Linked DNA regions of Homo sapiens: region 1 is linked to region 2. The links are contacts of gene promoters, found by promoter capture Hi-C in blood cells and fetal thymus (Javierre and others, 2016). All regions are on one chromosome and are shown on one strand. The core of a region is centred on a gene start or on the middle of the fragment in contact, and the rest is flanking DNA. Distances in the headings are between cores, read along the strand shown.

What was found. Contacts are between HindIII fragments. The CHiCAGO score rates a contact against its expected background, and 5 or more counts as called.
Region 1: a fragment that was not itself captured here is called in contact with the fragment with the promoter of LHX4 in region 2 in 6 of 17 cell types (M1 macrophages, erythroblasts, endothelial precursors and 3 more); the score reaches 8.7 in M1 macrophages.

The regions. Positions count from the first base shown.
Region 1 is chr1:180,489,453-180,495,464 of GRCh38, forward strand. It overlaps ACBD6 (acyl-CoA binding domain containing 6), which reads right to left. Exons shown (of 8, transcript NM_032360.4): 2 at 6,009-6,012; 3 at 2,817-2,913. Among named protein-coding and RNA genes, the nearest start is that of ACBD6, 10 kb to the right of the region's middle. The HindIII fragment of the contact is 530 bases long and covers 2,907-3,436 here.
Region 2 is chr1:180,229,009-180,234,627 of GRCh38, forward strand. It overlaps LHX4 (LIM homeobox 4), which reads left to right and starts at 1,256. Exons shown (of 6, transcript NM_033343.4): 1 at 1,256-1,597. The coding sequence starts at 1,522. RefSeq lists a silencer at 697-826. The HindIII fragment of the contact is 8,200 bases long and covers 1-5,581 here.

The DNA.
Region 1 (6,012 bases), core at 1,922-4,421, 260 kb after region 2:
TTAGAATAGTATGTTATATATTCTTTTAATGTTATTTAATGTATTAAATATATTAATTTTTTAAAGTTTATTATTTAATGTATTAAATAATTAATTAAAGAATATGAAAGTGCCTTTGGTTCTGCTTGGTTTACTCAAGTGTATGTTCAATAGGTTAGATTTAGACATTTTTAAAAACCATCCTCAACACCTGTTTGGAATCTGCAAGTCGTTTTTTTTTTTGAGATGGAGTCTTGCTCTGTCGCCCAGGCTGGAGTGCAATGGCACAACCTCGGCTCACTGCAACCTCTGCCTCCCGGGTTCAAGCGATTCTCCTGCCTCAGGCTCCCGCATAGCTGGGACTACAGGCACTTGCCACCATTGCTGGCTAATTTTTGCATTTTTTTAGTAGAGACGGGATTTCACCATGTTGGTCAGGCTGGACTCGAACTCCTGACCTCAGGTGATCCACCCGCCTCAGCCTCCCAAAGTGTTGGGATTACAGGCGTGAGCCACTGTGCTTGGCCTGCAAGCATTTTAAGAGTAATAGTTAACAAAATTTTACTAAAGTACTGAAGGTAAGAAATCATAAATTCTGTCTTTTATCAGAATTTATAAACTAAAATGCCTTCATAGGCCAAGCATCACCAATAGTGTAGTATAAATCAACAGGGAAGGATGAGAACACAGTGACTGGACCTGAAAAATACTCTGCCTAAAGGCACTCACATTCAAGTTTTGTTTCATTTCTAAACATTGTGCAACAGTTGTTCAGGCTGAGTTCAGCTCAGGGGGCACCTGTTTTGAGCACTGATTTTCAGATTTTAAGCCCTCAGAACCTTGAGAAACATATTTGTATGCATATTTGGTGTCTTATAAAAGATAATAAAATAGAAAATTTCTGAAAATGAAGACTCATGCACATCAGAAACATAAGGAAATTTCTCATGCCTATAATCCCAGCACTTTGGGAGGCCGAAGCGGGTGGATCACATGAGATCAGGAGTTCAAGATCAGCCTGGCCAACATGGCAAAACCCTATCTCTACAAAAAAAAAAAAGAGGCCAGGCGCAGTGGCTCACCCCTGTAATCCCAGCACTTTGGGAGGCCGAGGCGGGCAGATCACGAGGTCAGGAGATCGAGACCAACTTGGCTAACACGGTGAAACCCCGTCTCTACTAAAGATAAAAATAAAAATAAAAAAATTAACCGGGTGTGGTGGTGGACGCCTGTAGTCCCAGCTACTCAGGCGGCTGAGGCAGGAGAATGGCGGGAACCCAGGAGGCAGAGCTTACAGTGAGCCGAGATTGCGCCACTGCACTCCAGCCTGGGCGACAGAGTGAGACTCTGTCTCAAAAAAAAAAAAAAAGAAAAAAAATTTAAAAATTAGCCAGGTGTAGTGGTGTGCACCTATAGTCCCAGAGGCTGAAGTGGGAGAATCACTTGAACCTGGGAGGTGGAGGTTACGTTGAGCCAAGATCCTACTACTGTGCTCCAGTCTGAGTGATAGAGTGAGACTCTGTCTCATATAAAAAAAAAAAAAAAAAAAAAGGACATTTTTCAATGACTTCTAAAAGGCAGTCATATCATTAAAGATATCCAAAGTTGGTTATCACTCCCACTTTGTACTCTTAAGATACATTTTTAATATGTCATAATATATAATCTTTTAAAGTTCCTAACAAGTCTGAGATTTTTAAGATTCCATGATTAATGGAACAAATTCCTTCATACCAGTAACAACTATGTACACATGAAATTATGTAATTATTACAAAAACACTGAAAATTGTTTAATTCATTAACTGCTAAAATGTTTGGCCTTAATATTTTTATTGAAAAAAATTCAATTTGCATTTTTTACATGGTACAATGCAACCTCTATCTCACTGAAATACCTGTTAATCATTTAACAATATTCTTAAATAGTAACCTCACCTTTATTAAATTCTTTCTAGATGTTCTCCAATAAGTATATGAGAAAAACAGGGTATATTTAAGTGAACAATATCCAATGCTTCCAAAGTCCAAAGCAATCCCTTTTCCTGCTGGATTCCCTAGCATTTACATTATTATTGTTTTATACTATTAAAGATATATATTTTGATATGTTTTATCTTCTCTATTACACTTTAAACTACATAATGGCAGAAATCATGTCTTATTCATCTTTTATCCCTAATAAGCATTTTGCCCTTGCATAGAAAGTGATCATAAAAACGAAATCCAAGAGTAACCTTTTTTCCAGCATGATAATCTCAAGTTAAACTCTTTCCAATTCTTATGTAATTCAAATTTTTCTGCTTTCAAAAACTCTGCAACTCAGAGAAGTTCTCAGCATCAGTAGCTGGTTATATTACTATTTAAGTAATTATTATTAATTTTTTTCATTTTTCTGAGATGGAGTCTCACACTGTCACCCAGGCTGGAGTGCAGTGGCCTGATTTTGGCTCACTGCAGCCTCAGCCTCCCAGGTTCAATTGATTCCCCTGCCTCAGCTTCCTGAGTAGCTGGGATTACAGGTGTGTACCACCACGTCCAGCTAATTTTTGTATTTTTAGTAGAGATGAGATTTCACCATGCTGGCCAGGCCGGTCTTGAACTCTTACCTCAGGTGAACCACCTGGCTTGGCCTCCCAGAGTGCTGGGATTACAGGTATGAGCCACCACACCTGGCCAGCAATTATTTTATTAGATAAATATTACAATAACTTTAAAATATTTCAAGAAAGTAAAACTTTAAGCATGTTACTTAAAACTAAGTTTAGTTTTAGACATTTATTTCAGAGAAGGATCATAAGTTTTTGGAAAGTATTATTTATAATCATTAAGTCTTACCTGAGGATTCCAACCTGGATCTAGTTTTTTAACTACTGCGATATATTCCTGCATTGCTTGGCTGGGGCTTGAATCACCAAGTGCTTTCCAAGCTTCCCTACAATATGGAATATCCAAAATGGCCTGTCATTATGCAAATAACACAAACAGCATTTTTCTTATTATTAAAAAAACTGTATGCACATTTCAAGGGTCTCTGAATATAGAGATAATAAGCTATGGATAGAGAAGCTCTGTCTTTTTGCATTTACATTGGTCTAGAGCTATACAGACCTTATTGCCCTACCTAAGCAGTCTTTTCAGACATTTTTTTTCCTAATCGTCCTCCCCGTGAAATTTTAAAAACACAGATACAATGCATAGCTATTAAATTTTGAAAGACCACAAACCACTGTAATCTAAGATTTTATAATTTCCTCAAACAAAATTTCACCCCTATTGAGGATATATGATCTACAGACTAATAGAGATTATTCTCATAAATTAACTGTGCTTATGGCATTTTGGTCGTACAGAAACTAATCATCACATAAAAAACAATATTCCCAAGGAAAATGCATCAAACTTCTTACTAAGATACAAGAAATCCACCTTCCCTTTCTGCTGTTATCTCATCTATAAGCTTCTAGTAACTGATCCTGGGGACTTAGTCTGGGACTTCAAAAGTAAGGGATGGTGAGGGCAGAAATAAGAATACTGGCCAGGCTTGGTGGCTCACGCCTGTAATCCCAGCACTTTGGGAGGCTGAGGCAGGTGGACCACCTGAGGTCAGGAGTTTGAGACCAGCCTGGCCAACATGGTGAAACCCCATCTCTACTAAAGATACAAAAATTAGCCAGGCGTGGTGGTGTGCGCCTGTAGTCCAGCTACTCTGGAGGCCGAGGCAGGAGAATTGCTTGAACCTGGGAGGCAGAGGTTGCAGTAAGCTGAGATGGCACCACCACACTCCAGCCTGGGCAACAGAGCAAAATTCTGTCTCAAAAAAAAAAAAAAAAAAAAAAAAAAAAAAACAACAACAGCAACTAAAGAATACTAATGAGTAAGTTAGGGACTTCCTACAATATAAATGGCAAAAGCAACATTTTAGTCCTGAGCTTCCTTTTGGGTCATCTACCCCCCTGCCCCCACAACAGGCTGCCAGGACAGGCCTTCTTCTTGGTTTTTCCCTGCCAATTCTTTCTAAATTCCAACCAGTGTTTCTCGATTTCCCTGATTTGCTGTCAAACAGAACTCAATCCCACATTTTTTCACTACCTTCCTGCTTCTATGATGAATATAATATCTTTCTGAGGTTTTCTAAATTTATTTTCACTGAATTCCTTAAGAATTACTTATACGCATCATAACACTTCATCCCTAAATAGATCAGCTTACACAAACTCAGGAAATTTATCATCAATTACTATTATACAATATAGAGGCTATACATTCAGATTTTCCTGATTGTCCCAATAATGTCCTTTATGGCTTTCTTCTCCCACACCAGGAACCAATCAAGATCCACACACAGCATTGAGTTTCATGTATCTTCAGCTTTTTTGTCTTCCACATTGTTGGTATTTTTTAAGAGTCCAACTGTTTTATAACATATCCCTCAATTTGAATTTGTCTAATTGTTTCCTTACCTACAGTGTTCTTGCCAAAAATGATTAATCATGATTAGAATTGGGTTAAATTATTTCAGCAGAGTAATATATAGGTGACATGCCCTTTTCAATGCATCACACTGGGGGCACGTGATGTTAGTCTGTCCCATCATCAATAAGATTCATGGTTTGGTAACGGCAGTAACTGTCAGGTTTCTCTCTCATAATTAAAAAGTAAATGGTGGGTCAGCCTGTAACCCACGGTTTTGCTCCCCAATAGTTTTTCACCTAGCATTTTAACAAAAATTTTCCTCAATAGTTTTTCTCTAACAGTTCCCCAATATTTTATCATCTAATATTTAATCATTCGTTGATGTTCTTGCATAAACTATTATTATGGTGGCTATAAAATCTAAATTTTTTAATTGCTAAAAACAATGGAGAAACAGGCAAAGCACAGAAAAAAATAAAGGTATAAAATTTCATAAATTATAACAAAAAACTCACTGTCAACGTTAACATCAGGTATTCTTTAGAACAGTAATAATATGTTGGCTGGTTATCATCAACCAAAAAACTTGTGCAAGAATATAATCAATGCACTGCTTCCTTCACTGAGACTGTCCTATACAAAAAAAAATCAGCTGAACTAAACAGCGTGGTTAGTGACATACGTGATTTATATCTGGGTTCAAGCTCTGTATCTCCTAACAGTTGGGTAACAAACAGTTGGCAGGCAGGAAATGTATCCAGGGGACCAGATTTTATGTGGGACTGCTCTAGAATGTAAAGTAAGAACCCATATTTTATCACTTCCTCTCTCTATAACCATATTTTATCTTTTTTCTTTTCTAACTCTACCTTCTAACCTTAATTCCAGGGCTGATGCTCCAAAGCCTTCCCTTCTATAACTAAGATTCCCAGTTGTATGCAATTTCTCTTCTTTCACTTAGACAAGGTAAGAGAAGATAAGGTCTCATAAATGACAAGGGGGAACTTCTGAATTATAAGTTAAAAAAGTTTGCAAAAGTATACTCTTTTTTTTATATATTCAGAGAAAAAGAGAAGTTAGTATCTGGTTTTGGCTTTTCACTGAATTTTTCCCTTCTTCCCAAGAGTACTATAAGCAGTTATTTACTGTGGCATGGGTGGGGCAAGGAACACAAGAGTAAGTAGCAAGAGACAGGGAGATAAAACTGGGACAAGGAAGATGGGTGAAAAATGGGGATTTATCCTGCTCTTCTGCCCTTCCCATCATTCTGGCCTTCTTCCAAAAATCCCTCCAGAGGGGAGAAGTGGTGATCCATTAGGGGTTGAATGACAGGAAAGGAAAATCTCAAGCAATAGCTCTCATGGTATTAAAATGTAAGGCATGTATGTCTGTTGTGAACCACTTATATTCCAACATGCTAGCATAAGAATCCTTCAGGAGACTTAGCTAAAAGTAGATTTCTTTAATCTCTCCCAATTGCCTGTCATTAGTACAATCTACAGCAGAGAGAGAGATTAATATAAAAATAATTCTTTAATCAGCTCACTGCTTTCTAATTCCTAAACACCTAAGCCATTTCCAACAACCTCATTAAAGATTCCAGGAATTTCTTACCATT
Region 2 (5,619 bases), core at 6-2,505:
GCCCGGAGGCGTCGAGCGCCTGATGGAGCGTCAGAGGAGACCTCGTCCCAGCGTTGGGCCTTCTGTTGTATTTCTGCCAGAAACTCGCGTTGAGGAGAATTTGTTTTAAGCGTTTCTCTACCTGTCCATGCATCTCGTAAATACAGTAAGCATGGCAAGCCCTTTCGCTGGTTAACCCCGGCGTCCGTGTGCTCACTGCCGCCCTGCACGCACGAGGTCGCGGATGGTTCAAAGCACCCGCGGTGGCAGCCGGAGAGGCAGAGCGGGCTCTAGGGACCTAAGACAGGGCCGAGCTGGACGACTGGTGGCAGGGCGGCCGGGGAGGCCCCGCCGCGGGGAGGTTTGGGCCCCCTACCCTGCGGAACTGGAGGCAAGTGCGGACTCCGGCTGCAGGCCGCGGTCTGCGGGGACGCGCGCGGGGGGCCTGCGTCCCGCCACCTCCGCGCACAGCCCCTGGTCCCCTTCCCCAGCCCGGGCCGGCGCCGCCCGCCGCGTGACTCGCGCGTTCCGGGCCGAGTACGGGCTGTCCCTTGGCCCAGCCTCAGCCAGACGCGGGGGAGAGAGAGCAGGGGCTGGGAAGTGCCGGCAGGAAAGGAATTGGCCAGGGGAAAGAGGAGGAGGAAGATAGATGGAGTCATCGGTTACGGAGCGCGCTCCGTCCGGCGGAGCGAAGCCGGGGACCGAGAGCGCGCAAGGCGAAGACACAGCGACGCAGCCCCGTCCCCGGCCTCCGGACCGCCTGCCCCGCTCGGCCCCGGCTCGGCTCCGCCCCGCCCCTGGGTCCGAACGGAGGAGTGAGGAGGACACGAGCCGCGCGGGCTTGGAACCCACGAAGACCCGCAAACCCAGGGCGCCGCCGTCTCCGACCACCTGCTGCCGCGGCAGGCCATCAGCAGAATTTATACCCAGGGCGCGAGCCCGCCACGGCTGGGCGGAGGCGGAGGCGGAGGCGGGGAGGGGGGGGGGGTGCCGGCTTGCGAGGCCCCGCCCCGCTCCCTGCCGCCCCGCCCCCCTCCGCCCCGCCGGCCTCACTCGGGGCGCCGGGACCCCCACTCCCTCCGGGGTCGGCTGCCCGCCGCCGGGTTGGGGGATGTGCCGAAGGGCGGGCCTCCCTGCGGAAAGCGACGTCACGGCCGCTCCTGCAGTGTGAATGAATCAAAACGCCCGGGTGACCGCGGCCTCCCGGGCGGCCGGCACGCGAAGGGTGGAGGGGGAGGGGGAAGGAGCGGGCGGGGGAGGGAAGAGGAAAAAAGCCAGAGCTGCAGCAACAGCGTCTCAACCTGGGATGTGCACCAACCCCGGAGAGCGAGATCAAAGGGACTGGAAACAGACTGGGGACTGGCGGGGGGAGGGGGCCGGCCAGCCTGTGGAGTCCTCCCTGAGAAGCGGAGGGCCCGGCTTCCACCGTGACTCCAGCGGCCTGCTTGGGGTTTTAATTATTATTTTGAAATTTCTGAATCGAGCTAGAGCGAGAGAGCGAGAGATCTCCGTAGACTGCGACTCGCTGGCTTTCGCTCCGAGATGATGCAGAGTGCGACTGTCCCCGCGGAAGGGGCTGTCAAGGGGCTCCCGGAGATGCTAGGTGTGCCGATGCAACGTAAGACACCCCCCTTTCTCGCTGATTTAATTCTAACAAGACAGCTAGCAGCCTCAGCCGCTGCGGGGCGGGCCGGACGCCGCTCAGGGGCCGGGAGGGGCTGGCGGCCGGGGCGCAGAGGCGGTCACAGGGCAGGGGCACCAGCCAGAGTGCGTTTGAGGGGGCCAGGCTCTTGGCTGTTTGGGGCCGAATGTGAACGCCTCCTGGATCATGCTTGAGGCGAGCCGAGTACCGAACCCCGCATCTCCAGCCCAAGGCTTTTCTTGGAACGCTGGGGAGAGTGCTGTTTGGGGACACCCAGGGGTACGAGCTGTAGGCCAGGCCTGAGGGCGAGGGTGGTCCCCACAAATCTTCTTTCGCCGGCGTGACGGTCAGCGCTTGCAGGACCGCTAGTGCAACTTCACCCCAGCTGGCGGGAAGTTGGAGAGCGCGTCTCTCGCCCCTGGGGCTGGCGGCGGAGAAGCCCCGGCCACACTCTTAGTCCCTGCGGCCCGCGCCCCGGGCGTGCGTGCCGGGTGAGTCCCCAGCCGCTACTGCCCGCGGCGCCCGCCGCGTGCGCCGCGGGAAACTGACTGCTCCTTGTGAGGGAATCTGCTCGCGCATTCCAGCTAGCCTAGGAATGCAGGGGAGGGAGAAGCGACCGCAAGTTGTGAATTCCGGGTTCAGCCTTTGCGCACGCGAGGGCAGGTGCTCAGGGTGGCTCGGGTTTGGAGGGGTAGAGACGGGGGTGTGTGGGAGCTTTGCTAGCCTGCCCGCCCGCTTTCTTCCCGCGCCCGAAATTAGCGAGACAGCCGGAGCTCGCGGCGTGTTTATCCCCAAGTCTCTCTCTGTGTGTATGGGTGTGCGCGCGCAGAGATTTTCCCGAAGGGAATCCGTCTCTGTGCTTCACTCCTGAGCGAGAGTCCCCGAGAGGGAATCTGTGCAGAGGCCAGAACAGGTGCCCAGTCGTCGCGCGCGCGCGCGCGCGCGCGCGACAAGCGCCGGGAGAGTCCTGCCCCTGTGGCTTGCACGCTCAGCAGGGCGCCCCGGGCACCCTGGAGAGACCAAGGAGTTCCTCGCTCCGCTTGCCAAGGGGTTGTACTTCCGCCTGCGACTTCTTTAGTGGTGCGGTAGCTACATCTTCGGGGTTTACTTTAAGTAAGGGCCGGCTCATCCAGGGATGGTGACTACCTACAAACTAGGGCGCACGAGCGCGCCCTCCTGCGCCTCGGGTTTCCATGGCAGGGTTTCTGTCCGGCGATCCTTCGGAGGGCAGGCGTACCGTAGGCTTCCCTGGGAAGTTTTTGAGAAGGGACTAGAAAAGAATAGCTTCATCCAAGCCTATTTAGATTGTTTCTTGGCTGTATTCTACAGTTATTCTTTGAGTGTTTTCGTGTCAACTGCCGGCAATCAGTTCCACGTCTGTGTTGAGCCTTGGGGAGTTTACCGCTAAGATGTTTTCATAGAAGGCATTGGAGATTCACTACGCCCCACACCCCGCACACAGGCAGGGACAGAGTGGGTTCTCAGCCCCTGCAAAGACGGAAACAGAAACCCTGCAAAGGTGCACCGAGTCCTTAAGCTGCTTGTAGCTCTGCGCGAGTGAGGAGACTGCATGAGTGGGGGAAGGGTGTGTGTGTGTTACTAGTGTCCTTGGTACCCAGTACGTCTGTGCTTTCATGGCTGTGGTCCGTAGGTGACCTGTCTGTTGGGACCCCAATGAAGGACGATGGTCTCTGCTCTGACGGCCTTTCTTGTGATGAGTGACACTCTGATTGTCTCACTTTTTGCCTTCCCTGTTCAGAGACAACTTTGATGTTCGACGTCAGGGAGTCGCTTTGCTAAAATGCCCAGAACTCACCTTCAGAGCTACAGTTTGCCAAGGCTGAGTCTAGGTTCACACTGTGGAAAACTTGAGGTGTACAAAGGAACTTCCACACCCACCCCCCCAGGGTGGCCCAGGGAGGCAATGTCTAATCTAGAGGGGGTGGTCAGTCCTCCCTTTGTCCGAGTTTCGTGACCTTGGTTGGAGGAGGCATCGGCCAAAATTGAGGGGCCCACTCCCTGAAGACTTCTGGATCCAGCTTTTATTTCCTCTTGGAATGTGAATGGATTGTAGCCTCCCTTGCAGCACATCTGGCCTCTGGCTGTTAGGCTGTTGGTGCTGGGACCGCGGGATAGGTCCCCATCACCCACATATACACAACTATTAGTTTTCTTGGGACTGGGCCCAGTGGCCTAAGAAGGGGGGAAGCTCGAGGGGTTGTGGGGCACACCCTTGGGCCTTCCGGGACAGTAGGCTCTTAAACCCTAGAGGAGGGGAGACAAAAGAAACGCTCTCCCACAGGGGTCCCTCCAGTCGCCAACTAGAAGGGTTTCCCTCTCAACACAGACATGTTTGCCTCTTCATCACATGGAGTCACCACGAATGGAGCACTTGGGGACGCAGGTCTAGGTGTCCCCAAGCTCGGTGCCTCTAGTGCCCTCCCCTCTAGGGGCATTTTAGAAGAAGTGATTTAAATCCAGCTTATTTCGGCGGCAGCTGGACTATTCCTTTGCTTATTTGGGGATGGGTGAGGGGCATACCCTTTAGGAAAACGTTTCCAAATGATGTAATAATTTCTCTCTCATCTCTGGTCTTGCTCCAGACTTGGCCTCTTCCTCGCCACTCTGTCCCGGCCTCCCGCCCCCGCAGGCTCCCGTGCGGACTTAGCAGTTCGCGCCGTAGCCCTCCTGGTTTTTTACCGCGCCTTGGTCGCGCGGCCCCCGGTGCGGGCCTCGTCGCTCCGACAGCCCTACAGCTGTCCCTACGGCCCGCACCGACAGCTCGTCCCCGCCACCTCCCTCCGGGCTGTAGGGACGTCGAGATCCGAATCCTCACAGCGCCTGACCCGGGGCCGTGTTGGGTACGGGTACGGCGAGAGCCTTCCGAGCCGCCTCCAAAACTCTCCCCGCGGACCTCAGCAGTCCCTCCACGCGTCGGGGCCCTGCTGGCCGGCCATGCCCTCTGAGGAGACGCGGAAAAGAGCGAGGCATATAGGAAGGTGGGGCGTTTTATCCGCCTCGGTTTTGACCCATCTGCCATGTAGTCTCCCCAGGCACCGAGGGAAAGGACGACGGAAGCCCGCCGCCCGGATCGCTGGCGGGAGAGAGGGCAGCCCGCACGGGAGAAGGAGGAGCCCCGCGGGGTCTCCGCTGGGGGTGGTAATTGGAATGCAGGCCTGGGGGTCTCTGTCCCCCTCCTTGTCTCCTAAAATGCTTCCGGCAAGCTCTGGCGAACCCCGAAGCTGTAGGAAAAAGGTATTTTATTTTGTGTTTGGTAGGGTCGGGGTAAAGGTTTTCCCTGGGACTTCCTCTCCTGGGGCTCCTCCGGGGTGCGTGGGGTAATGTCCCAGCGCAGGTCGAGTTGCAGATCCGAGTCCCCGGGGTTGTTGACTGTCCTTCTTGCAGGACATTTCTTAAGGGGGTGAGATGGATTCACTGTCCAAGACAGGAGTTCACTCAAACGCTGGTGCTGTTCGCTCTTCTTTCCATTCCTGCCTTGTCTCCTAGTGCGAGAAACAGACACACACAACACACACAAATTATATATATATATATATATATATATATATATATATATATATATATATATATAATAGATTGAGATTCTATCATATTCCGAACATTCCGATATAGCAGCTGTAGGCACCATAGACCTCCCTCCCTGCGTCGCGAGAATATATTCTCAGGCAGGAGACAATTTTTACAGATGAGGTCAGCTGTCCCCGCCGGCCGATTCGGGCCTGATGGGTTGGGGGTTCCGATGTCCTAACTGCTAGGATCCCGTTCCAGCCCCTGGCCAGAGCTGTGTACCACAAAGAAGGGAGTTTGGAGAAACCCGGGTAAGCGCGGCAGCGCCCCGCTTGGGACAGCGGATGGCTGAGGACTCCCAAGGGGCGAGAGGGCTCCGGCCTCCTCCTTTCCAGGGCCTTGTTATCTGAGAGGGCCGTTAGCACGGAGGGAAGCTTGGAAAGCCGCTGTCCCAGTGCGCTCCGCATGCG